Regions from separate parts of the Homo sapiens genome. Here all the other regions are linked to region 6. The links are contacts of gene promoters, found by promoter capture Hi-C in blood cells and fetal thymus (Javierre and others, 2016). All regions are on one chromosome and are shown on one strand. The core of a region is centred on a gene start or on the middle of the fragment in contact, and the rest is flanking DNA. Distances in the headings are between cores, read along the strand shown.

The links. Contacts are between HindIII fragments. The CHiCAGO score rates a contact against its expected background, and 5 or more counts as called.
Region 1: a contact is called between a fragment that was not itself captured here and the fragment with the promoter of UBE2Q1-AS1 in region 6, in 6 of 17 cell types (M1 macrophages, endothelial precursors, naive CD8 T cells and 3 more). The highest score is 6.2, in M1 macrophages.
Region 2: a contact is called between a fragment that was not itself captured here and the fragment with the promoter of UBE2Q1-AS1 in region 6, in 5 of 17 cell types (M1 macrophages, endothelial precursors, M0 macrophages and 2 more). The highest score is 6.8, in M1 macrophages.
Region 3: a contact is called between a fragment that was not itself captured here and the fragment with the promoter of UBE2Q1-AS1 in region 6, in 2 of 17 cell types (M1 macrophages and fetal thymus). The highest score is 5.6, in M1 macrophages.
Region 4: a contact is called between the fragment with the promoter of TPM3 here and the fragment with the promoter of UBE2Q1-AS1 in region 6, in 4 of 17 cell types (M0 macrophages, M2 macrophages, endothelial precursors and 1 more). The highest score is 6.0, in M0 macrophages.
Region 5: a contact is called between the fragment with the promoter of DCST2 here and the fragment with the promoter of UBE2Q1-AS1 in region 6, in 7 of 17 cell types (erythroblasts, fetal thymus, total CD4 T cells and 4 more). The highest score is 8.8, in erythroblasts.
Region 7: a contact is called between a fragment that was not itself captured here and the fragment with the promoter of UBE2Q1-AS1 in region 6, in 5 of 17 cell types (endothelial precursors, M0 macrophages, megakaryocytes and 2 more). The highest score is 9.4, in endothelial precursors.

What each region holds. Positions count from the first base shown.
Region 1 is chr1:155,014,229-155,017,840 of GRCh38, forward strand. It overlaps ZBTB7B (zinc finger and BTB domain containing 7B), which reads left to right. Exons shown (of 3, transcript NM_001256455.2): 2 at 427-1,586; 3 at 1,992-3,612. The coding sequence starts at 433. The coding sequence ends at 2,457. Among named protein-coding and RNA genes, the nearest start is that of ZBTB7B, 13 kb to the left of the region's middle. RefSeq lists an enhancer at 3,047-3,191, a silencer at 3,088-3,557 and a cis regulatory region at 3,119. The HindIII fragment of the contact is 1,940 bases long and covers 1,050-2,989 here.
Region 2 is chr1:154,913,661-154,916,849 of GRCh38, forward strand. All of the region lies in intron 1 of LOC105371449 (a long non-coding RNA gene), which reads right to left. Among named protein-coding and RNA genes, the nearest start is that of PMVK, 21 kb to the right of the region's middle. The HindIII fragment of the contact is 3,055 bases long and covers 31-3,085 here.
Region 3 is chr1:154,975,690-154,979,136 of GRCh38, forward strand. CKS1B (CDC28 protein kinase regulatory subunit 1B) reads left to right here. Exons shown (of 3, transcript NM_001826.3): 2 at 2,298-2,425; 3 at 3,036-3,447. The coding sequence ends at 3,088. MIR4258 (microRNA 4258) reads left to right here and starts at 4; the gene lies at 4-94. The HindIII fragment of the contact is 2,679 bases long and covers 436-3,114 here.
Region 4 is chr1:154,189,973-154,193,561 of GRCh38, forward strand. TPM3 (tropomyosin 3) reads right to left here and starts at 2,128. Exons shown (of 10, transcript NM_152263.4): 1 at 1,930-2,128; 2 at 1,214-1,339. The coding sequence starts at 2,046. The HindIII fragment of the contact is 3,875 bases long and covers 1,265-3,589 here.
Region 5 is chr1:155,032,025-155,035,164 of GRCh38, forward strand. DCST2 (DC-STAMP domain containing 2) reads right to left here and starts at 1,757. Exons shown (of 15, transcript NM_144622.3): 1 at 1,410-1,757; 2 at 1,070-1,240; 3 at 643-744. The coding sequence starts at 1,677. It overlaps DCST1 (DC-STAMP domain containing 1), which reads left to right and starts at 1,800. Exons shown (of 17, transcript NM_152494.4): 1 at 1,800-1,830; 2 at 1,948-2,073; 3 at 2,411-2,536; 4 at 2,629-2,703. The coding sequence starts at 2,013. The HindIII fragment of the contact is 9,861 bases long and covers 1-3,140 here.
Region 6 is chr1:154,551,605-154,555,146 of GRCh38, forward strand. UBE2Q1-AS1 (UBE2Q1 antisense RNA 1) reads left to right here and starts at 2,005. Exons shown (of 2, transcript NR_046668.1): 1 at 2,005-2,068; 2 at 3,046-3,424. It overlaps UBE2Q1 (ubiquitin conjugating enzyme E2 Q1), which reads right to left. Exons shown (of 13, transcript NM_017582.7): 4 at 3,131-3,181; 5 at 1,428-1,568; 6 at 1,132-1,216; 7 at 800-860; 8 at 489-579; 9 at 317-375; 10 at 167-215. The HindIII fragment of the contact is 6,880 bases long and covers 1-3,542 here.
Region 7 is chr1:154,993,412-154,996,793 of GRCh38, forward strand. It overlaps LENEP (lens epithelial protein), which reads left to right and starts at 175. Exons shown (of 1, transcript NM_001394530.1): 1 at 175-904. The coding sequence starts at 197. The coding sequence ends at 382. The HindIII fragment of the contact is 1,856 bases long and covers 763-2,618 here.

The sequences.
Region 1 (3,612 bases), core at 770-3,269, 460 kb after region 6:
CCTGAACCGGGACCCAGGCATCCTATCTCCCAGTCCACTGCTCCTTCCAAAGAGATGGGGAATGGGGCAGGTGACATAGATGGACCTCCATGAAAGGGCCAGAAAGGCAGGGCTCCTGCTGCCACAGAGGCAGAGTAGAATAGTATAGTGGTTAGGAACAAGGACCGGGCCCACTCCCTGAGTTTGAACACTGTTCTGCACTTAACTTGGAAAATCACTTCACCTGTCTGAACCTCAGTTTCCTTGTCTGTGAAACAGATGATGATCATACTTCAGAGGGTTCTGGAAGATGAAATGAGTGTAAAGTACTCAGAAGGGTGACTGGCATGCAGTCATCCCTCAATAAGTATTGGCTAAAGTTGGTCCTCTTTCCCCAGACCCCTGTGGGCTGAGCGCTCTTAATCTCCCCTCTACTTGACTCTGCAGGAGAAGATGGGGAGCCCCGAGGATGACCTGATTGGGATTCCATTCCCGGACCACAGCAGTGAGCTCCTGAGCTGCCTCAATGAGCAGCGCCAGCTGGGCCACCTATGTGACCTCACCATCCGGACGCAGGGCCTTGAATACCGCACCCACAGGGCTGTGCTAGCTGCCTGTAGCCACTACTTCAAGAAGCTTTTCACTGAGGGCGGTGGCGGAGCTGTCATGGGGGCCGGGGGTAGCGGGACGGCCACTGGGGGAGCAGGGGCCGGTGTGTGTGAGCTGGACTTTGTAGGGCCAGAGGCACTAGGCGCCCTCCTTGAATTTGCCTATACAGCCACACTGACCACCAGCAGCGCCAACATGCCAGCTGTGCTCCAGGCTGCCCGCCTGCTGGAGATCCCGTGTGTCATCGCTGCTTGCATGGAGATTCTGCAGGGCAGTGGGCTAGAAGCTCCCAGCCCGGACGAGGATGACTGTGAGCGAGCCCGCCAGTATCTGGAGGCCTTTGCCACAGCCACGGCCTCTGGAGTTCCCAATGGTGAAGACAGTCCTCCACAGGTGCCCCTCCCACCACCTCCGCCACCGCCACCTCGGCCTGTTGCCCGCCGCAGCCGCAAGCCCCGGAAAGCTTTCCTGCAAACCAAGGGGGCCAGAGCAAACCACCTAGTCCCTGAGGTGCCCACAGTGCCCGCCCATCCCTTGACCTATGAGGAGGAGGAGGTGGCGGGCAGAGTGGGCAGCAGTGGGGGCAGTGGGCCGGGGGACAGCTACAGCCCTCCCACAGGAACTGCCTCCCCTCCTGAGGGTCCCCAGAGCTACGAACCCTATGAGGGTGAGGAAGAAGAAGAGGAGCTGGTATATCCCCCAGCCTATGGGCTGGCGCAGGGTGGCGGGCCCCCGCTGTCCCCAGAGGAGCTGGGCTCAGATGAGGATGCCATCGATCCTGACCTGATGGCCTACCTAAGCTCCCTGCACCAGGACAACCTGGCACCAGGCCTGGACAGCCAAGACAAGCTGGTGCGCAAACGCCGCTCCCAGATGCCTCAGGAGTGCCCTGTCTGCCACAAGATCATCCATGGGGCAGGCAAACTGCCTCGCCACATGAGGACCCACACAGGCGAGAAGCCCTTTGCCTGCGAGGTCTGCGGTGTTCGATTCACCAGGTGAGCAGCAAGGGGGGAAGGGCCCGGCAGGGGCCATGGGTAGGGGACAGGGTGGGAGGAGATGGGGAAGAAGTTAGGAGACCCGAGGTGGTGGTAGGTGGTCCTGGAGGGACTGGGGCATGGGTGGGTTACTGGAGTGAGGAGAGCAGAAGAAAACAAGCCAGCAGGGGGTGGATCTGGAGCATGGAGGATTCGGTGCCCAGGAGGGCAGTGCTGGAAGCAGAGGAGTGGATAATGACAAGGCCTAGTTAAGCTAGAGGTGAGCTAGCAGGGTATCTCCTGGGGCAATAGTGGGGTAACAAATGGTGAGGAACAGGGATGGGACAAGGCCAGGGTGGGATGACCAGGAGGAGCCAGGGATCCCATCCTGAACACCTCCCTGCCCCTCACCCCTGCCTGTGCCAGGAACGACAAGCTGAAGATCCACATGCGGAAGCACACGGGAGAGCGCCCCTACTCATGCCCGCACTGCCCAGCCCGCTTCCTGCACAGCTACGACCTCAAGAACCACATGCACCTGCACACAGGGGACCGGCCCTATGAGTGCCACCTGTGCCACAAGGCTTTCGCCAAGGAGGACCACCTGCAGCGCCACCTCAAAGGCCAGAACTGCCTGGAGGTGCGCACCCGACGGCGCCGCAAGGACGATGCACCACCCCACTACCCACCACCCTCTACCGCTGCTGCATCCCCCGCTGGCCTCGACCTCTCCAATGGCCACCTGGACACCTTCCGCCTCTCTCTAGCTCGATTCTGGGAGCAGTCAGCCCCCACTGGGCCCCCGGTCTCTACCCCAGGGCCCCCTGATGACGATGAGGAGGAAGGGGCACCCACCACACCCCAGGCTGAAGGTGCCATGGAGTCCTCTTAAAGAGGGACGAGGGCCAGACTGAAGCAGCACAAGGCCGGGGACACCCATGCCAAGCAGTGGGAGCACGCAGGACAGACACAGCAGGGGTCTGGGGCACGGAGCCTTGCTGGCATCAGCATCAGCCCTTCCTCCCAGAGCCCTCATTCCAATTCCAAGCTAAGAAGGTATTGGGGCAGAGGCTCCCCAAATTGGGGTGATCCCCCAAGGAGTGATACATATATTGTGTATATATTTACAGCTGTATTGTAAAAGTGGGGTCCCTGTCCCCAGCTGCTCCTGGGGAGTAGAAGCAATAATGTATTTCTAATTTGTGGGTCCCACTTCGGCTATGCGGGTTTCTAGGGGGTGGGGGCTTGGGACCAAAGCCTTGCCCCGCCCCTATGCCCCTTGGGGGTTTTGGCTGTGTAAGGGGGTGAAGGACTGCCCCTCCCTTTCGAGACCCCTCCTTCCTGGTTTCTGTTCCTTTTTCCTGGCAGTGAATTATGCAAAGGGGGCCGGCAAAGGAAGGGTAGGTGGGGGAAAGCCAGGTGGAAGCTTGAAAGACTGGGGGACTGGGCCTGTAAGGAAGGAGCCATCCCAGTCCCCCTCCGCCCTGCTCCCGGCGCTGAGTCATGGGGTCGTGGAGAAGGGGGCGGGGTGGCCTGATTGGCTCGCCTGCCCCTGGGGGCAGTAGAGGGGCCCCGCCCAGCTAGGGGAGCCGCTCCGTTCCACTCCCCTCCCTAGCCCTCCCTCCCCACGGCCCTGGGCAGGGAATGTCTTGTTCCCGCCGCTCCCTCCCCGGGGCCAGAGGGCAGGGCGGGCCGGGCGGCGTCCTACCCTCTTCTCCTCCTCCCCATCTCCTCCCCGCCCAGGTGCGAGCCGGAGCCGCCGCCACCGCTGCCGCCCCTGACTCACGCCGCCCCCGGGCTGGCGCAGCGAAGGGTGTGGGACAGGGTAAGGGGTTGGAAGAGCCTTGTGGAGAGCGGGCGAGCCGGCGCCATCTGGCGGCCATGCTCTGAGTGGGCGAGCGCCCCCCGCGGCCACTGGAGCGAGCTGTCTTCACGCTCCTCATCCACCCCAGCTGGTGAGCGGCGCCCCCTTGCCAAGGCAGTGGGCACAGAACTTCTCGCTTGGCCGCAGGGGAAGGGGCTGCGGACCTGTGGGAAAGTGATCCCC
Region 2 (3,189 bases), core at 308-2,807, 360 kb after region 6:
CAAATGACTGCTAACTGCTTCATGACAATAAGCTTAGGAGGTCATATTGTTTTCTAACACATAAACTTTCTTCATTGTCACAAACATGTATTGAGACCTACTGATATGGTTTGGATGTTTATCCCCTCCAAATCTCATGTTGAAATGTGATCCCCAATGTTGGAGGTACAGCCTGATGGGAGGTGTTTGGGTCATGGGGCCAGAACCCTCATGAATGGCTTGGTGCCATCCCAGTGGTAATGAGTGAGTTCTCTCTCTGTTACTTCACAGGACAGCTGGTTGTTTCAAGGAGCCTGGCACCTCCTGCTGTCTCTCTTGTTCCCTCTCTCACCATGTGACACGCCTGCTCCCCCTTTGCCTTCAGCCATGAGCGGAGGCTTCCTGAGCCCTCACCAGAAGCAGAACAGATGCTGGTGCCATGCTTGTATAGCCTGTAGAACTCTTTACTTCATAAATTACTCAGTCTCAGGTACTCCTTTATAGCAATGCAAAACCGACTAATATACCTCTACTATGTGCAATGTACCAAAGACTCGAAAGGAAAAAAACCTTTCCTTACTTGCTCACAGCATGGTGGAGGAGTGAGAAAGTGTACACTGTGGAGCATTCTGGAAATGGAAGTGGAGTGCCCCTTGCTCTGCTCAAGTTGTAGGGGTCCAAGCCCAAGCAACTAGGAAGGGTACTTTAGGCAGCATGAATGGCACATGCGAAGATACAGAGGCTTGATTACTAAGGCAACTTTTAAAAATTCCTCTCTGAGAATTAACTTTGGTAAGTTTTAGAATTATTACATTACAGGACTATTTTTCCTGGCCATAAGATGTCTCTTTCACCAGAGTTTAGTACCAAATTCCCTTTGGTCGTTTCCAAAACCCAAATGCACTTTTGGGGATGAGAATTTGGCAGAGTTGAGGGCAGGTCCTCAAAGCAAAGAGGAGCTCCCAAAGCCATTTGATAAAGGCAACAGCCCTGAAGTGTCTCAGCCCAAATGCCCAAGGTGACTACTTTAGGTTACAGCAGACAGTTGGATGCACAAGACCATTTCAGTTCCCATCTCATTATTCAATAATGCTTTACCAGGAACAATAAGATGCCAACTTTTTCCTGTTAAGACACGTCCATATCTCTGCCTTGGAGAATGCCAGGATTTGAATTTCGAAAATGAAGACAAAAAGAAGAAAGAAAATATCCAAAAGCATCCAGGCAAAAAAAGAAGGTTACCTTCAAAGGAACAAAAGTCAAGGTGACCTCATACTCTCCAGACAGTGGAACCAGGTCATGAAACTTATGCCAACCAAGTCATTGTCCAAATATAGAGGCAAGAGAATGTCATTCTCTCATACATATAGGTTCAGAAAATAGATCATGGCCGGGCGCAGTGGCTCATGCCTCTAATCCCAGCACTTTAGGAGGCCGAGGCAGGCTGATCACTTGAGGTCAGAAGTTCGAGACCAGCCTGGCCAACATGGTGAAACCACATCTCTACTAAAATACAAAAATTAGCTGGGTGTGGTGGCACATGCCTGTAATCCCAGCTACTCAGGAGGCTGAGGCAGGAGAATCACTTTAACCCAGGAGGCAGAGGTTGCAGTGAGCCAAGATCATGCTGCTGCACTGCAGCCTGGGCGACAGAGCAAGACTCTGTCTCAAAAAAAAAAAAAAAAATCATCTACATACCATTTTCAAAAAATTTTTCAAGACACATTAACTATCTGGAGAGGAATCAAAATACAAAATTCAAAAATGGGGAAGTTGAGGTACTATAAAAGGATTGAAAATGAGCAATAAACCGGTGAAGTCTAAATTATAAATCATTGTTGTAAATTTGGTTTAAAGTTGGATGTTAGTCATTTGTGTGAAATTCTAGAACAGGCAAAACTAATCTATGGTGAAAGAATTCAAAACAATTGTTTCTGGGAAAGCAGGGATTGAGTAGGATGAGTTAAAAGGAAACCTTCTGAAATAATGAAAATGTGTTCTATCATGATAAGGGTTTGTGTTATACAGGTGTGCACATTTGTCAAAACTCATTGTACTGTATTCTTAAGGTCAGTACATTTCACTGTGTGTGATTATACCTGAATTTAAAAAATAAATATGTTAACAATATTGAGCCAGGTGCGGTGGCTCATGCCTGTAATCTCAGCACTTTGGGAGGCTGAGGTGGGCGGATCACTTGAGGTCAGGAGTTTGAGACCAGCCTGGCCAACATGGTGAAACCCCATCTCTACTAAAAATACAAAAAGTAGCCGGGTGTGGTGGCATGTGCCTGTAATCCCAGCTACATGGGAGGCTGAGGCACAAGAATCAGTTGAACCTGGGAGGCAGAGGTTGCAGTGAGCCGAGATCACACCACTGCACTCCAGCCCAAGCAACAGAGTGAGACTCCAACTCAAAAAAATAAACAATATTGAGTCTTCCAATATATGAATGTAGTATAATCTCTTTGCTTATTTAGTCTTTTAATTTCTCTTAGCAATGTTTTGTCATTTTCAATGTACAGATGTTATGTCTTCTATCAGATTTATCCCTATTTCATATTTTGATGGTATTGTAATTGGCATTATTTATCTCAATTTGATTGCTCATTGCTAAGAAATAGAAATATTGACTTTTGTATATTGACCTTGCAACTTTATTGAACTCACTTATAAGTTCTAATAGCTTTTTTGGAGAATCCATCCAATTTTCTACATAGATGATCATGTCATCTATGAATAAAAGGAGTTTTATTACTTCCTTCCCAATTTAGATGGCTTTTTTTTTCTCTCTCTTATTGCACTGGCTAGAACCTCCAGTAGAATGTCGAATAGGTGATGAGAACAAACATCATTGCCTTATTCCCAGTCTTAGGGGGAAAACATTTAGTATTTCACCACTAAGTGTGTTGTTAGCAGTAGGGCTTTTACAGATATTCTTTATGAGGCTGAGTATATTCCATCTACATTAAGCCATTTTTGCATTGCTATAAATACTTGAGACTGGGTAATTTATAAAGAAAAGAGGTTTAATTGGCTCACTGTTCTGCAGGCTTTACAGGAAGCATGGTGCTGGCATCTGCTCAGTTTCTGGGGAGGCTTCAGGAAGCTTACAATCATGGCAGAAGGCAAAGGAGGAACAGGCATGTCATATGGCAAGAGTAGGAGCAAGAGAGAGGGAGATTATGGGGAAGGTGCCATACACTTTTTT
Region 3 (3,447 bases), core at 525-3,024, 420 kb after region 6:
AGAACGCCCCCCGCCCCGCCACCGCCTTGGAGGCTGACCTCTTACTTTCGGTCGGTCTTCTTCCCTGGGCTTGGTTTGGGGGCGGGGGAGTGTCCTAAGGGCCAATTCAGCGTGATGTCTCTTTCACCACCATTGAAAACGAAACCAGTAGTAAACTACGCGTGTTTTCATTTATATGTCGGAGATAAAAACACAGGGACAGAAAGAGGGGAACAACAGACATTGGGGCCTGCTTGAGGGAGGAGGGTGGGAGGAGGTAGAGGTTCAGGAAAAAAAAAAACTGTCGGGTACTATGCTTAGTACCTGGGTGATGAAATAACCTGTACACCGAACCCCCGAGTCAGGATTTTACCTATATAACAAACCTGCACATGTACCCTTGAACATGAAACTTAAAATACTGAGAGGAAAAACGGAAGAGGGAATGTTGGGGAAAGCTTCCTAGAGGGCAGAGCCTGAGATGAGACTCTAAGAAAAAGGTATGTGGGAGGAAGCACCTCTTGACTGAAATTGTTTAGAAGACACTGGATAGCCATCTGCCAAGGATGGTGATGATGGAATCCTGGCACTGGATGTGGCATTCGGGCTTGATAAATTTTAAGTGCATAATCTAGATTGGGAATAAGGGAAGACACAGGATTCCACAAATGTTGGCATTATGCTAATCTGTATTAATTGTAATAATTAAGACCACTTCCTGGTTTGTATCTTGTCTCCTCAGTTGGAGAACATAAAATGAAAACTTGCTTTTCTTGTGTCTCTTCACCCAGCCTAGTTCAGGGCTTTGGGTCTTCCAGAGAACTCGATGTGCATTGACAAATACATAATCATCTTTATGCCAAGACGGCTCCAGACCCTCCTTTAATTAACTTTCTTTTCCTCAGCTGTTTTCCTCTACATCTGAACTAAACTAACTTAAAACTGTATGTGCTTATAAGAGATTTGTGGAGCTGGGAAGGAATCACCATTTCATCCCCTGGAAGATGAAACTCTTGGCAGTGGCACTTTGGTTTAAGAGGGGTTTTTTGGTGTATGTATTGAAGCCAAATTTCGTGCCAGGGTGGTGTTAGAATGTGAGCTATTTTCATTATATTTGGACTAGAATTTTTTCTTTTAGGAGAATGGTGGGGAATCACTGTTACTAGCACAGAGGGAGAACTTAGTACATTTTCATTGAGCATGACGAAGACTATGTGGATTAGTTTGATTCACATCAGGGTAATAATTTTTTTGCTATGAAGGGAGACTTATCCTTGGTTAGAAAAGCACGGAATTTACCCAGAAAGTCTCAAGGTACATCCCTCCAGAGTTAGGAAAATAAGATTCAGGATAGATTTAATTTTTTTTTTAAGAGACAAGGTCTTGCTTTGTTGCCCAGACTGGAGTGCAGTGGCTATTCACAGGCACAACCATTGTGCATTGCAGCCCTTTCTTTTTTCTTATTTTTTTTCTCTTTTTTTGAGACGGAATCTCACTCTATCGCCCAGATCTCAGCTCACTGCAACCTCCGCCTCCTGGATTCAAGGGATTCTCTCCTGCCTCAACCTCCCAAATAGCTGGGATTACAGGTGCATGCCACCACACCCGGCTAATTTTTGTATTTTTAGTAGAGACGGGGTTTCACGTTGTTGGTCAGGCTGGTCTCCAACTCCTGACCTCAAGTGATCCACCCACCTCAGCCTCCCAAAGTGCTGGGATTACAGGCATGAGCCACCGCCCCTGGCCTATTTCTTCTGTATTTTAATCAGATTTCAAACTTCATACTGTATCTTTTTCAAACTCCTGGGTTCAAATGACCCTCCTGCCTCAGCCTCCCAAGTAGCTGGGACTGTAGGTTTGTGCCACCATGCCTGGCTTAGATTTTAAAGGACAAGATAGTTCATTTCATCCTTTGTAATAACTTGTCCACACAGTACTTCATAAAAGGCCTTTCCTCGCCACAAAATAACTTCTCTTCCTTCCTTCTAATTATTAACACTGTGTGCTCCGTGGGGCTCCCATTATGTTGTAGATAATCAACTAGAAGACTATAAGGTCCATGAAGGCGGAGAAAATGTGCCTTGAACTTAAGTGCTCATTCACTGGAATTATTCACTAATTTGTATTTTTAATATACTCTCGGAATTTATATAACATAGCCTGTATTTCTAGCTGCTGCTACCCCACAATAAAATTATATAAACTCTGACATCAAAAACCAGTTTTTCTTTCCTTTCTTGGCCTTGTAAACAGGCATTTGTCTAAGAGACTGTATCTGGTACTAACATAAATTCCCCACTTCCCCGTTTCTGTTACAGACATGTCATGCTGCCCAAGGACATAGCCAAGCTGGTCCCTAAAACCCATCTGATGTCTGAATCTGAATGGAGGAATCTTGGCGTTCAGCAGAGTCAGGGATGGGTCCATTATATGATCCATGAACCAGGTCAGTGCACTGGCTAAAAACAACCATATAGAACTGCTACACTGAGAGAATGAAAGAATAAGATTGTATAACCCAAATAGGGAGATAGGAAATGGTTTACTGGTTCCTTCCCCCTCCAGTCGTGGGGGATTTTTTTAAAAAAAAACTAGTGACCAAAAATAAGACTAAAATATCTGGGAAGTTCAGAGACAACCTGTCACTGAAAAACCTCCTGTAATCTTTCATTCAATCAGAGGGTATTCTTTTTAAGGCCACATATAGCCTGATCATAGCCCCTGCCTCATTCTCCATCGAAAACATTCTTGGATGTGTTCTAAATAAGCAAAGGAAAGTATATTTATTGATAAGACACCAGACACCCAGCTGCCAGGCAAAACTAATAAGGGACACCCTGGGGCTGTATAAACATAGCAAAAGAACTGATATTAACAATTCTGTACTTGGCAGACAGTCCAGACTTCTGGGTCTGCTTCTAAGGCCATATGCTTAAGTCTTTATTTAGTTATAAAGATCTGAGTGGGTGATAGCTGGGGAGGTGGTAGTGGAATACACTATAGGTTGTACATAGAATGGTGTGAGCTTGTCTCTTAGATTTCCCTCACTCTTTCAGAACCTCACATCTTGCTGTTCCGGCGCCCACTACCCAAGAAACCAAAGAAATGAAGCTGGCAAGCTACTTTTCAGCCTCAAGCTTTACACAGCTGTCCTTACTTCCTAACATCTTTCTGATAACATTATTATGTTGCCTTCTTGTTTCTCACTTTGATATTTAAAAGATGTTCAATACACTGTTTGAATGTGCTGGTAACTGCTTTGCTTCTTGAGTAGAGCCACCACCACCATAGCCCAGCCAGATGAGTGCTCTGTGGACCCACAGCCTAAGCTGAGTGTGACCCCAGAAGCCACGATGTGCTCTGTATCCAGAACACACTTGGCAGATGGAGGAAGCATCTGAGTTTGAGACCATGGCTGTTACAGGGATCATGTAAACTTGCTGTTTTTGTTTTTTCCTGCCGGGTGTT
Region 4 (3,589 bases), core at 878-3,377, 360 kb before region 6:
TCTCTGTTGCCCAGGCTAGAGTGCAGTGGTACGATCTCGGCTCCATGCAGCCTCCGCCTCCTGGGTTCAAGCGATTCTCCTGCCTCAGCCTCCTGAGTAGCTGGGATTACAGGCACCCGCCACCACACCTGGCTAATTTTTGTATTTTTACTAGAGACAGGGTTTCACCATGTTGGCCAGGCTGGTCTCAAACTCTTGACCTCAGGTGATCCACCCGCCTCGGCCTTCCAAAGTGCTGGGATTACAGGCGTGAGCCACCGCACCCAGCCCAAATATGATTTTAAATATTACATGCTCCTTTTTTCCTATTAACTCAGTTCACTGAGAAACTTGTTTCCACCAATACTGGGACATTTCTGTTGTTGTTGGTAAGATTCCTATGGTACTTTTCTTCTAAAAAACTTTTCAATCTACTCTCTCATTTATCTTTGCAGCAAACTTCAAGGTTAAAGATGAAGGAAAGTAGGTGATGATGATGGGATAATATGAGATGGAAAAGAGAATTTATTTTATTTGAGAATGGGAAAATTCAGCCCTAGACAAGCTGAGTAATTACTCACGGTCATAGAGTGAAGTCTGGTGGTGATACCTTTACCCCCTAAGATTCTTTCTTAGTTTCTATTATACTCTGTCACTGTAGGGATCTCTCTGCTGCCCTAGGAGCAATGCTTCATATGGCATCTCCATGGCATAAAGGCAAATGCCTGCATTGGCCAAGATAAATAAACCCATATATGGCCAGGGTCAGTGTGACCTCCATTTCCCATTGTGAAATCCGAGCTGGTTTTGTTGGACAGTTGAGAGATGAGAGGTTCCCTATTAATACACATATCCACATGCCAAGACTTGGACATAAAAGCTAAGAATGTGGCATGGGGGAGGAGGTAGGATAAGTGACAGCATTCTGAACTTAGAGTCCCCTCTCTTTGTCCAGGTCCTGGGAAAGATAATTAAATTCCTGGGTTGGTGATAGGAGATAAATGAGACCTTTACATGTATTAAAAAAAAACTTTTAACATGTTGGAGATGTCTTTAAGAAAGAAAATACATGCCATTATGAGAATATACCAGCATGTGGTTATATGCAAAAATGTATGTGAGTATATATGTCTGTGTTCCATGAACCCACAAGTGTGTTTGGAATTTCGTCATACATTAACATAAAGATCTATATGTGTAGATTAAACCCATCCTCCATCTCTCTAATACTCACATCAGCAGCCTTCTTCTCTGCCAGTTCCAGCTTCTCCTGGGCATCCTTCAAAGCTTCAGAATACTTGTCCAGCTCATCCTCTGTCCCTTTCAGCTTCTTCTGCATGGCTGCCAGCTCATCCTCCAGCTATAGGAGCCCAGAGAGTCACACACAAAAACACACAAACACAACAATGCAGGGTTGGACCCTGGGCTCTTGGAGCCCTGAGTGTAACCTCCATGTTACCATCCCTAGTGAGACACACTTTCTCCCCAGCCACTTCCAGCCCACTGCCTCAGGAGTTATGCCGTAGCTTGGCCTGTGACCCTGTAATCTCTGATCCTAAGATGACCAAGCCATCCTGGGTTTTCATCCAAGACCCCTGGATGATAAATATCTAAAGTGTAGATGCCCGTGATGCTATTTGAGTGAAAAGAGATGCTCTTTCCCTCTAGAACTCTTACCTTTTCCTCTAGAAGTCAAGGGTTCTTCCAAAACATGGTCCATTTCTACTTAAATTCAGCAGACATACTGTGGCTCACTGACTTTCCCAAGGTCACAAAGGCAGTCTGAGACAGATATGTTAGATATCCTCTGCTCCTCCAGTGAGGCTGGGGAGTCCATCCCACCCCCAAAAAGGAGGTGACACCAGTAGTCACTGTCTTTCCCATGAAAACTCCCTTCCATTTCACAGTCTTGTTCACTAGCAGATGAGAGAGATCAATGCCAGTGCCTACCTGTTTACTTCTTTCTTCTGCCTGCTTCTGCTCAGCTTCAGCTTGCTCTGCCCGATCCAGAGCATTCTCCTTGTCTAACTTCAGCATCTGCATCTTTTTCTTGATGGCCTCCATCATGAGCAGTGGCTGTTGGTAGGCTCACCTGTGAACACTGGAGAACTGGAGACTGGGGCAAGAAAGAAGGGGCTGCTGCCTGAGTGACCAGGAGGTCCCCAGACTTGAGTCTTTATCTGTGCTCATAGCTCCACCTTTTGTTCCTAATATGGTCTTTCCAGCTCCCTCCACCCCATCATTGTTCTCCTGGGGGAACACAGGGTGAGACGCTTTGATGAACTGACATCACCAGCAAAAAAAATATCTAGCAACAGCTGAGGCTGATTTTAGACAATGGAAAGTGGGGGAGGGAAGAGGTTCTCCCTGACCCTGAAACTTTCCACTCATTCTGGGCAGCTCTATGGATGTTTTAAAAGAAGAGGAAGAGGGGAGGGAAGAACATTGAAATAGAGAAGTGTACTTTGGCAATTCTAGGTTGGCAGTTTGCATCCAGGGGGTCCTGGTTGCCTTTCAGCTTCCCGTTTCACTCTCCCCCAGACTGTGTTGAATGCTGGTCAAACTCCGTTAGTTGAGTTTTAGCTTTTGATTCCTGGTATTCAAGGAGCTTGGGCACAGGGAAGAGGGGAGGTCACTCATGATCCTTAACAATTCTCCCAGATCCCCAGATCAAATTGCTGTGCTATTCTGGGAGTCTCCGATTGGCAGGGAGACGTTTTTCCTCCCCACCAAGAGCCACAAGAGTAGAGTAAGAGGTAGGGTTGGAATCTCCAACCCTATCCTTGAAGGCTATCCCAGAGCTTCAAGTGGGGTGGGGAGAGAAACAGGGGAGGGTCAGAACAATCCAGACAGGATCATACCCTTTGTTTTCCCACAGTAATCTTAAAATAGAACTGTTGTACCCACACAGACTTTGGTCTGTGTGGCTCTCTCCTCTTCTTCCCTTTATCTTCTCCCTTCTTAATTCTCCCCAACGCTGCCACTCACCACATCATCGTAATCATCATTATCAGCTCTATTCTTTCCAGTTTAGTTCCAGACCATGTTTATTCTTCCATTGGGAGCCTTGTTACTAACAGGTGGCAAGGATACCAGTCCACTGGCACCATACACCTGAAAATATGCCAAGGGAGAGGTGGGCACTGTTCAAGGTGACCAGATATATTGGACAAATATAAATGGCTCTAGTTAGTCATTTATGTCAGGATACTGAGAGTTAATGCTAAGCCCCAGCAATGGGGGAACGGAGACACCCACCAGGCCAGTGGGTAGAGCAGAGCTGGAGTCCACTATTGAGAGCTTCCAGTCACTAGAGGTAGATAGGCAGATAGACCATCAGCTGACTCTCGACAGAGAGAGGAGAAACCAAGTCTCCTTTCTCTGGAGATTAGCCAGGGAAAGGGGTTAGGGAACAGGGAGAGGAAGGAGTGGAAAATGGGGGGGGGGTGGGCAAGTGAATAAGGGGGAGAAAAATACGAGGACAAGAAAAGGCAAAGAAATGTCCCTTCTAGTATAAGGGGACAAGAAATAGAAAGATTCTATCCTCAAATTCCAACTCTCTCCCATTCCCACACCAGCCCTCTTAGGTTAAGATTGAAATGCACATAGG
Region 5 (3,140 bases), core at 507-3,006, 480 kb after region 6:
CTCTTGTTGCCCAGGCTAGAGTGCAGTGGAGTGATCTCGGCTCATTGCAACCTCCGCCTCCTGGGTTCAAGAGATTCTCCTGCCTCAGCCTCCTGAGTAGCTGGGACTACAGCTGCGTGCCACCACGCCCGGCTAACTTTTTGTATTTTTAGTAGAGACGGGGTTTCACGATGTCAGCCAGGATGGTCTTGATCTCCTGACCTCCTGATCCACCGCCTCAGCCTCCCAAAGTGCTGGGATTACAGGTGTGAGCCACCGCACCTGGCCCCCCCGCTTTTTTTTTTCTTTAGAGATGGAGTCTCACACTGTCACCCAGGCTGGATTGGAGTACAGTGGCACGATCATAGCTCACTGCAGCCTCAAACCCCTGGGTTCAAGAGATCCTTCCACCATAGCCTCCCCAGTAGCTGGGACTACAGACATGTGTCATTACATCTGGCTAGTTTTATTTATTTTCTATTTTTTTATTTTTTATAGAGACAGGGTCTCGCCATGTTGCCAAGGCTGGTCTCAAACTCCTGGGCTCAAGTGATTCTCCCACCTCGGCCTCGCAAAGTGCTGGGATTACAGGCATGAGCCACCGCACCCGGCCAGGACTGGGTGCATTTTGAGTCCCCGGGATAGACATGCTAATGTGCTTACCTATGTGTTTCACACCATCCATGATTGACCGAAAGAACTTGCGGACCCGGTCAGCCACCTCTTTGGTCTTCCGGGCAATAGCTTTAATCTTGTTCAGGGCACCTGATGGGTGAGGGACAGAGGCACTTTGGAGTCTTCTCCTCTAGGGGCTGGTTCTCACCATTGCCCCTTAAGCAGGGAGTAGAGAGGAGGCCACCATTTCCAGAGGCGGGAAGCCTGGATTCTGGGGCCTGGGAGATCGTTAATCTGGGAGTGGAGGAGGCCAGAGAGCAAGGAGAGAGGGTTTAGCTGTGCCCAGAGTCCCTTCCAGGCCCAGATGCTCCGCGATTAGCACCAGCAGAGAAGGAGGCCAAAGGACTGTAGAACATGCAGGATGAGGGGGGCGAGGGGGGCCCGTGGGAGACAGTGGTAGAGGTGGGGGACTTACTGACAAGAGGTTGCTTGGCCCTCTGTAGCACTTCGGCGGTCTGGTTCAGGGCCAGCTCTGCCCCACAGGCTACAGCCTCGCTGGCCCGGGTGAAGTTGCGTAGAGTGTTGGCACAAGGCCCTTGAAGCACCAACCCAAAAGCAGCCACCAACAGTAGTGTCCGGCCCTGCCCTGGGGGCGACAGCTTTGTTAGAACCAAGACCCCAGCCCCAAACATGGCAGCAAGTCCCTTACATAAGCCTTCAGAATATTTCCCTTAACCCCTGCCTCTCCTCCAGCATCTCTTCTGCCCCAGCACCAGCCCCAGGACCTGCCCCCTAGCCCTGGGTGCCAAGCTCACTGGAGAAGGCCTGAGGCAGCAGCAGGAGGACAGTGGCTCGGACCTGGCGAGAGAATCCCATGCCCAGGCTAAGGAAGGCAGCCAAAGTGAGGGTGCCCACCAGGCAACCCCAGGGGCTGTGGCCTTCCACCAGTAGCTCCAGAAGCCCGTAGGCCGTGGCTAAAGACAAGCCCAGGGTAAAACCTCCCACGCTGCGAACCACAGCTCTCGCCATGCTAGGCTCCTCTCCCCCCAAGGGGTGCACAACATCCTTCATGACTTTGGGCATGGCTGCTGAGACCAAATGTCTGCCTGTCTCCAGGAGATGCCCGCTGACTTCTGTGCTCCTGGAATTTCTCACCGTATTCTAAGGTTCCAAAGGGCTTTCACTGCATATGTCTTGGAATCCTTGACCCAGTTCCGAGGACTGGAGAGGGGATAGGTAGGTCTCTAATCTCCTTCCCCACTTCTCGGAGCAGAAGGATTAAAAGGCCCAGAGCTCAGGCCTAGGCTTCCCATGAAGCGGAAGAGACAGGCAGCACCTCTCTTCTCTCACCAGAACCTTGTGTCCAAGGAGGTCCTTCAGGAGACCTGGGATGAGTGGTGCTTCCCCAAAACAGACTCATGGACATTAAACATCATCAGAATGGCACAAGAGGGCAAAGAAGAAAACAGCCTCATACCAGTGAGTCACTCAGCAGAGACCCAGTATCCCTTGACCTCCACTCTCATCCCATCTCTCCTCCTGGAACTCCTGCACACTATCCCCCAACTCGGTGTCCGCGCCTCCACCACCTCTCTGGTCTAGTGCCTCCCGCCTCCCAGCCCAGCCCTTGCCTTTGCTGTCCCTTACACCCATACCACTTCCTCAGGCTCCCTCATCCTCCTCCAGGGTCCCCTAAGTTCCTACTGTTTCACATGCCAGGTTTCCCCAGCCTCTATCCACCTGCAAGCCCTGAATCCTAATGAGCCCCATCCCAGGCAGAAGAGTGGGCTGTTGAGCTACCCTGTCCCCCTCTTAGCGGTGCAGAGGCTCCTGACCTGGGGGCTGCCAGTCTCCTGTAGCTGGTTCCTGTGGCGCCAGCCGGGCGAGTTTCCTGTCACTGCTCTCCTGCTGGGGGCAGGCGCTGGGGGGCTCCTGGCCATAGGTGAGTGTGGAAGCAGAAAGTTCGGGGTGGGCAGAGGCTGGACCAGGGCTAGGACCCATCTTTTGGCCTTTGGCTTGACCTTGTGCCCTTAGGTCTCTTTCAGCTCCTGGTGAACCCCATGAACATCTACGAAGAACAGAAGATTATGTTCTTGTACAGCTTGGTGGGTTAGTGCTGGGCAAAAGCCAGGAACACTCAAGCGGCCTGTGGAACACAGCGCCGTCCTGCATGCCCAGGAAGGAGTCGGGACTTGTTTCTTCTGTACCCATACATCCCCTGTGGCTTCCGCCTCCTCCTGGGCTTTACGGGGAGGTCCAGAGGGAAGAGGCTGCCAATTTAAGAAGGAAGACACCGTCCTTGCCCTGAGGGAGTCTCTCCATTCCGAGGGACTCCCCATCACCCACATGATATAGTCCAACCCCATAACCCTTCATAACTCTCATCTCTCCTGACCTGTCTGACCTCGTTTTCTGATCCTCCTAAGAAATTAAATTCATTCATTCATTCATTCATTCACTCAGCACTTACTGAGAATCTGCTGAGGATTTAGCAGTAAACAAGGATGACAAGCATCCAGCCGTTTTGCTTTGGTTTTGTTTGTATG
Region 6 (3,542 bases), core at 755-3,254:
CCCAGCACTGCCACCACCTGTCTGTCTAGGTCAGTGGGTGCAGACCCAGCCCAGCAGAATGAAAGGGCCACATCATGTCTATCACCCAGCCCGTAGGGGTGTGTGCTGTAAAGCTCAGACAATCCCCGCCCAGGCCGGCCTGGCCAAGGAGGAGAGACAGGCTCACCTGTTTGGTGAGAAGTTCCATGCAGATGGCCCCTCCGCCCAGAACATACCTGCATGAGAAAGGTTAGTCAGCTGTGCCTGACAAAATCTCCAAGTCTCTTCCCCGCCCTCTGCCAGAGGAGATGCCCTCTTCCGCATGCCAGCCACTCACCCTCCAGAGAGGACTGGAGACACAACCCTGACAAATGGTGGGTCAAAGGGAAAGTTATCCTGAGAGAGAGAGAGACGACAATCAGGGGAGGGAGGCCAGCATCCTCCACAGGACTGTCAGGCAGACTGGGCAGCCTAGGCCAGAGGGAGAGACTGGAAAAGAAAAGTCTTACTTTAAAGGAAAAGTTAAGTAGAATGAAGTCGGCTCCTTCTTTCTCTTTGAGGATCTGGAGATCGTTGTGCAAAGCGCTGTCCTGGTCAACTCTAAGAAGCAACAAGCCTGGGCTCAGATGCCTGGTTCCACCTCAGGAGCTTCATAAGGGCTCCCCTGCCCTGGCTGGCAGCAGACCACGAAACCACTGCCCACACCCGCTCCGGGACCCTGAATGAAAATGCTGGATGGGGCTGCCCTGGAGATCCCACCACAGTAGCCCCACTCACACTCCTCCTCAACTTCCTCTCCAATCCCAGAGTCCCCACTCACTTGAGGAGTTTGACATTCCAATCATACAGACTGTCATTCACGAGTTCGACTGCATAGTTTCCTGGAAGGAGGGAAAAAACAGGTGTTAGTAGAATGGTCCAGGTGGTGAGTGGTCTCTAATGCAGACCCCTTTCCCAGACTGAGAGAAAAAGATCAACAGCTCTAGGTTCACCACAGATGGACATGCAACCAAGCCACTGGCTTGAGGAGCTCCATTCTTGGCCTGAAAAGTTCATAAGCACTCCTGGACCCCAGAACCTCTTGGGCCCCTTGCCACCATACCCTTCTTTATGGGTGACTCTTGTGCAGGCCCCTCTCTGGGGCAAACTCACCGCCTTTGAAACTCTGTGATCGGTATATATCCCTGAGCTCCTTCATCAGCCGGTCAGTGGCCTGCACCGAGCCAGACACTGCACCCTGTGAGGGACGGATGACAGGAACATTCCTTGGTCGTGTGGTTTATAAACACACGTTAGACCTTAGGGGCAGTCTGGCAGCTTGCCCAGGATTTAAGAAAGGATTAGGCACAAAAAAGGAGTCTGCTCTCCATACTGAGATGCGATGGCCTACTACTTCCCAGCCATTTCCCACCAACCCCTTCACCAGCCTCTCTCTAGAAGGCACGTACATTTAAGTAATCTTGCCTCTGGTTCTTTTTAATTTTCTCTAGGATGGCCAAGTTTTCTTTTCCAATGCCATCATCTTCAGATTTCTTGCCCTCAGCTGGCTCTTCCTCTTTCATTTCATAGTGATCTAAGTCTTCTGTGTCCTGGAGGAGGTGTGGGGTGGGAGTGAAAAGAAAAGGAAAAAAACCGACACAGGTTAGAGAATGACCATCACCTTCCCAGTCCCATTTGGCGAAGAGCCAAAAGTTAAAGTGAAGCAGTCCATCTAGCAGTCTTATAAACGCAACGTGCTTTCCATTTTTAGAACAATTTCCAGCCCCATTCCCTCCACAGTCTAAATCTTCAGCTCTCAAGCTACAGCAAGGACTTCGGAAACGAGCAGAGCTGCAGCTGAGATCGAGGCAGGGACTTAGCCCTCTTGTTTCCTGGACTGACCCTGCTCCAACTGTTCCTAAAACTCCCTTGGCAGCAGAAACTCTTCCCTAATTCCTAGCAGAAATGACTTGGGCCTGACCCTGTGACTCAAAGCTCATGTTTCACCAGGTGACTATTGCACCCGGGAGTTCTCAGGGCCCCAAGCCTAAAGGAGAAACCTGAATCATTACATCTCCTCTCCTCGCTACAAATGCAAGGCATGAATCAGGTATGCAGAGGCACGCACTGCCAGATGGAAATGAGAAAGGATGTCCAGAGAGATATATGGAAGAGGTCAAGAACAGAATTAGCCCCTTATTCATCCTGCTCTAAGTGAGCAAGCAACTAGCTCACTGAGCATAGGGAAGGAGGAGAACCTATGTAGGGTTGAGCCCCTCAGCCAGATGTTGGGGGTGTGGCCCAGAGGGCTGTCCACTATCTGGGAGGAGTAAATTTCATGTCGTCAGCCCTTTGCCAGTCTCAAGAACCTTACACGGTTATAGAACCTGGGATATTAATCTAATGCTAGGAAATAAAAGTAATCAGAGTGATCTCCCCATTTCTGGCAGGACATACCTAATTACCACACCAGCAGGTAATGTCTACTGAGTGTTTATTACATGCCAGGTTCTGTCCTAGGTGCCGCAGATACTAGCTCATTTCATTCTTACCACCATCACTCATTATTCTATCATTATCCATTTTATAGATGCGGAAGCTGAGTCTAGTGAGGTCAATTATCATGCCCAAAGTCACAGCTCTTAGCAGAGCTAAGATTCAGTCAAGTTCTGTCTAGCTCTAAAGCTCAAATTCCTAACCATGATTTTATATTCTGTATGTTTTTAGAGAATATATCAGATAGATTGTTTAGCATTTATCATGTATCATCTGAAGCATTTTATATATAACACCTCATTTAATCTCAAGACAACCATATGCAGTAGGTATTATAATCCTACTTTATAGATAAGAAAACTGTAGCTTAGTGAGATTACATAAAATTCCTCAATTAGGATAGCTAGGATGCAAACACAGGTTTGTTGGACTCCAAAGCCATTTGAAATTAACTTACCCAGTATTTGGTTTGAACCGCGCTGCACCTGTCTTCAGTGGTTGGATATGGGTGCCCTGTCTCCTCTACTACACTGGCTATTCCTCCAGGTCAGTAAATCTGTCTTTATTCCTTTGATATTTTTCTCTCTCCAGTTTTAGACTGGAGTTCTGGATATGGGTACCAATGTTGCTGACTGCAAGAGCTTCCAGCCAATGCCACCTCAGGGGGCAAGCCTACCTCAGGCATCTCCTCATCTTCATCTTCTGAAGACACGTCTTCCTGTGTGCACTGCAGCAAGGAAGGGAAAGATGGAGATCAGAGCCCCAGTGGCTTGCTAGAATGCAGCCTCCAACCTACTCCCCTGAGCCCCCAGGTCTGGAAGTTGTGCGCCTGCCTGTAATGCTGCCAGTCTCTCCACCAGCCAGATCTGAGTGGAAGCAACAGCCCAGGGAATGGCTTTGCTACCAGCCCATTATTTTTCGCCTATCACTGCCAAAGAATAAAAGAAAAGCAAAATGGCTGTCTCTGTCACCCACCTCCTAAATCCTAGTTTAATTCTCCTAAGAACCCCTCCTTTACTTGATCTTCTTTAGACTGATATTGCATTCTTGGTTCTCACCAAGGGGCCTGGGTCCCCAGTGGCCACCAA
Region 7 (3,382 bases), core at 441-2,940, 440 kb after region 6:
CCCTCCCTCCCACTAACCCCACCCTCCCATCCCTGTCTAGAGGGGCTGACTCAGCCTGTTCCCAGGCCTAGAACCTTCCCTTTGCTAGACCCTGGATCCTTTGTCTCTGTAGTCATGAGGCTGAAGGGGGTGGGGACAGTGTTGATAAAAGGCACTAGAGGCAGCTCCCACACCCTTCCTCGGAACTGTTGCCCACATGCAGCCCCGGACACAGCCCCTAGCCCAAACCCTACCCTTCTTCCTCGGAGGGGCCCCTCGAGACACTGGGCTGCGGGTGCCTGTCATTAAGATGGGCACAGGGTGGGAGGGCTTCCAGCGGACCCTGAAGGAAGTCGCCTACATCCTCCTCTGCTGCTGGTGTATCAAGGAACTGCTGGATTAATGGTAGCAGGGAACTGCCTCCTCTCCCCACCAGCACCATGGCTGGCATCGCTCAGGTGGGCAGGGTAGAGTAAACAGGAGGCATAGCTGCAGCTTCTGTGGCAGAGCTTGCCTTAGCTTCTCATTCTCTTCTTTAGCCCCCAGCCCAATTGCCATCAAGACTCCTGAAGCCAGCTGTGCTTGACCAAGGATGGGCCATAAACAATGAGTAAACAGTAAAGTGTGGATCCTGCTTTGAGCTGTGTCATCTAGCAGACCTGCCTCATCTCTGAGCCTCCTTCATTCCCAACCCCTGCCTCTGGTGGACCTCTGGTGGGCAGGAGCTTGGACTGCTCTGGCTAGGACCCCAGTAAGATTGTGGCAAGACCTGGCACTCCTCCAAGCTTGGCACAGTGAGCCCACCAGCTCAGATGGTTGATCTTACCATACCCTCATAGTACCAAGAATGGACTGCCCCCTAAGAAACCTGTTTGAGAATCACTGAATTATAAATATAATCCATAGGCCTTGAGGCCCAAGATTATAAGTGTCTAAAGGGGAATCAGAAAAAGTCAGCACTAGAACGGTCTGGGAGCAAGGGTGCAGACCAGGGAGGGAAGGAGCTTGTCCTGAATAGAACCAAGATTGAAAGCCAGGTTTTCTGACTCACTGGTTCCTGAGTGGGGAGGGTGGAAGACAGTTCAGGTTCCTCTCAATCTGTGGGTAAGGAGGGGACCCAGCTTGAGTAGGGTCTTCATCTGTGAGGCCAAGGGTGTGTGGAAACCCAGAGGACCCAGCCCTTTCCCAAATAGAAGACCTGGTCCAGGCAGCTTCCTGCCTCTGAGGATCTTGGGGAAAGCACTGCGCTGAGGCTAGTCCCCAGCTCATCAAGGAAGTAGGACCCCATGAGCTACAAGAGCTCCCAGCTCACATACAAAGTTACCAGAGAAAGACACCTGTGTGGCCACACAGGTCCCTCAGGCTTATCATGACACAGCCCTATCAGGACATAAACAGCTAGATTGAGCAGAATTGGCTCTTTACTTCCTCTTGGTAGCCACAGCTGGTATTTTCCATGAGTTACTCCCGGTGGTAGATATACACCAGCCATGTGTATCGTCTTGCTCAGGGGGTGCTTATGCTTACTGATCTGCCCACCCACAGCCCCCCAAACCTCAGAGCCAGCCTGTTTGGGACTGTTCAGTATTTCCCTGGGATTCCCATCCAGCATTCTCTGGCCCCTCCTGGGGGGCCAGTTATCATCCCCCAGCCCTTTGTCACTTGGGGCACTGGCCTGGAGATTATAGATAGTGCCCTCTTCCTCCCTGCCTGGGACCAGCTCTTCCTCAGCCTTCTTCTTAGTTAACTCTTTTTTTTTTCTAGATTCTTTTTGTAAAGGTGATATATGCCCAGAGTAAAGAACTTTAGGCCAGGCCAGGTACAGTGGCTCACACCTGTAATCCCAGCACTTTGGGAGGCAGAGGCGGGCAGATCACCTGAGGTCAGGAGTTCTAGACCAGCCTGGCCAACATGGTGAAACTGCATCTCTACTAAAAATAATTAGCTGGGCGAGGTGGTGAGTGCCTGTAATCCCAGCTACTTGGGAGGCTGAGACAGGAGAATCACTTGAACCCGGGAGGCAGAGTTTGCGGTGAGCTGAGATCATGCCACTGCGCTCCAGCCTGGGGGACAAGAATGAAACTCTGTCTCAAAAAAAAAAAAAAAAAAAAAGGCCGGGCGCGGTGGCTCACATCTGTAATCCCAGCACTTTGGGACAAGGCCGAGGTGGGTGGATCACTTGAGGTCAGGAGTTCGAGACCAGCCTGGCCAGCATGGTGAAACCCCATCTCTACTAAAAATACAAAAAAATTAGCTGGACGTGGTGGCACATGCCTGTAGTCCCAGCTACCTGGGAGGCTGAGGCAGGAGAATGGCTTGAACCCAGGAGGTGGAGGTTGCAGTGAGCCAAGATTGCACCATTGCACTCCAGCCTGGGTGACACAGCAAGACTTCGTCTTATAAAAAAAAAAAAAAAAAAAAAAGAACTCTAATAGTTAAAAGTCTCCACGTCTATCCCCCAATCCTTTAGCGCTCCCCCTGGAGGCAACCATGGTTACCAGTTTCTTGGAGAACATTCCAGTCTGTGCATAGACTGCATCTTCATTCATTCAACAAATATTGAGTTATTGAGTGTATATTATATGTCACTGTGGGTCTTTGGATGCAGCAGTGAACAAAACAGATCCTTGTACTTGTGAAGCTTACATTTTAGGGGGTGGAGAGGACAAACTATAAACATTTTTTAAAGTATGTATATGTTATTAGATGATAGGCACTATAGAAAAAAGAAGTGGAAATCGAGCTGGAGGTGGGAATGGGGGCAGGTCATAGAGGGCCTAAGAATTTGAGCTTTTATGCTGAGTGAAATGAGGAACTATTGCCGAATATTGAGTGTGAAATGAGTTTTTTAATTTAAAAGGCTCAAGCTGGCTGCTGTGTTGAGAATAGATTTCAGGGGAGCAAAGGTAGAATACGAGTGACCTATTAGGAGGTAATGGCACAATATAGGCCAGACATGTTGGTGGTCTCGGACCAGGTTTATAGCAATAGCAGTAGTGAGGGGTGGCTGGATTCTGGATATATTACTCTTCCTAGTTAACATACTCTCCACGCTGTTCTGCACTTTGCTTCTTTTCCTTTGATAAACCTTGGACAGGATTCAGGATCCCACATCAGTACACGGAGAGCCTGTCCATTCTTTTTTACAGCAGCCTAGCCTCTACGGTACTCCAACTTGAGCTTATTTCTTATCCCTGGCAGGTCAATGTGTCTTTTTTTTTTTTTTTTTTTTTGAGACAGATTCTCACTCTGTCACCCAGGCTGGAGTGCGATGGTACAATCTCAGCTCACTGCAACCTCCGTCCCCCGGGTTGAAGCGATTTTCCTACCTCAGCCTCCTGAGTAGCTGGGATTACAGGAGCGTACCACCATGTCCTGCTAATTTCGATTTTTTTTTTTTGAG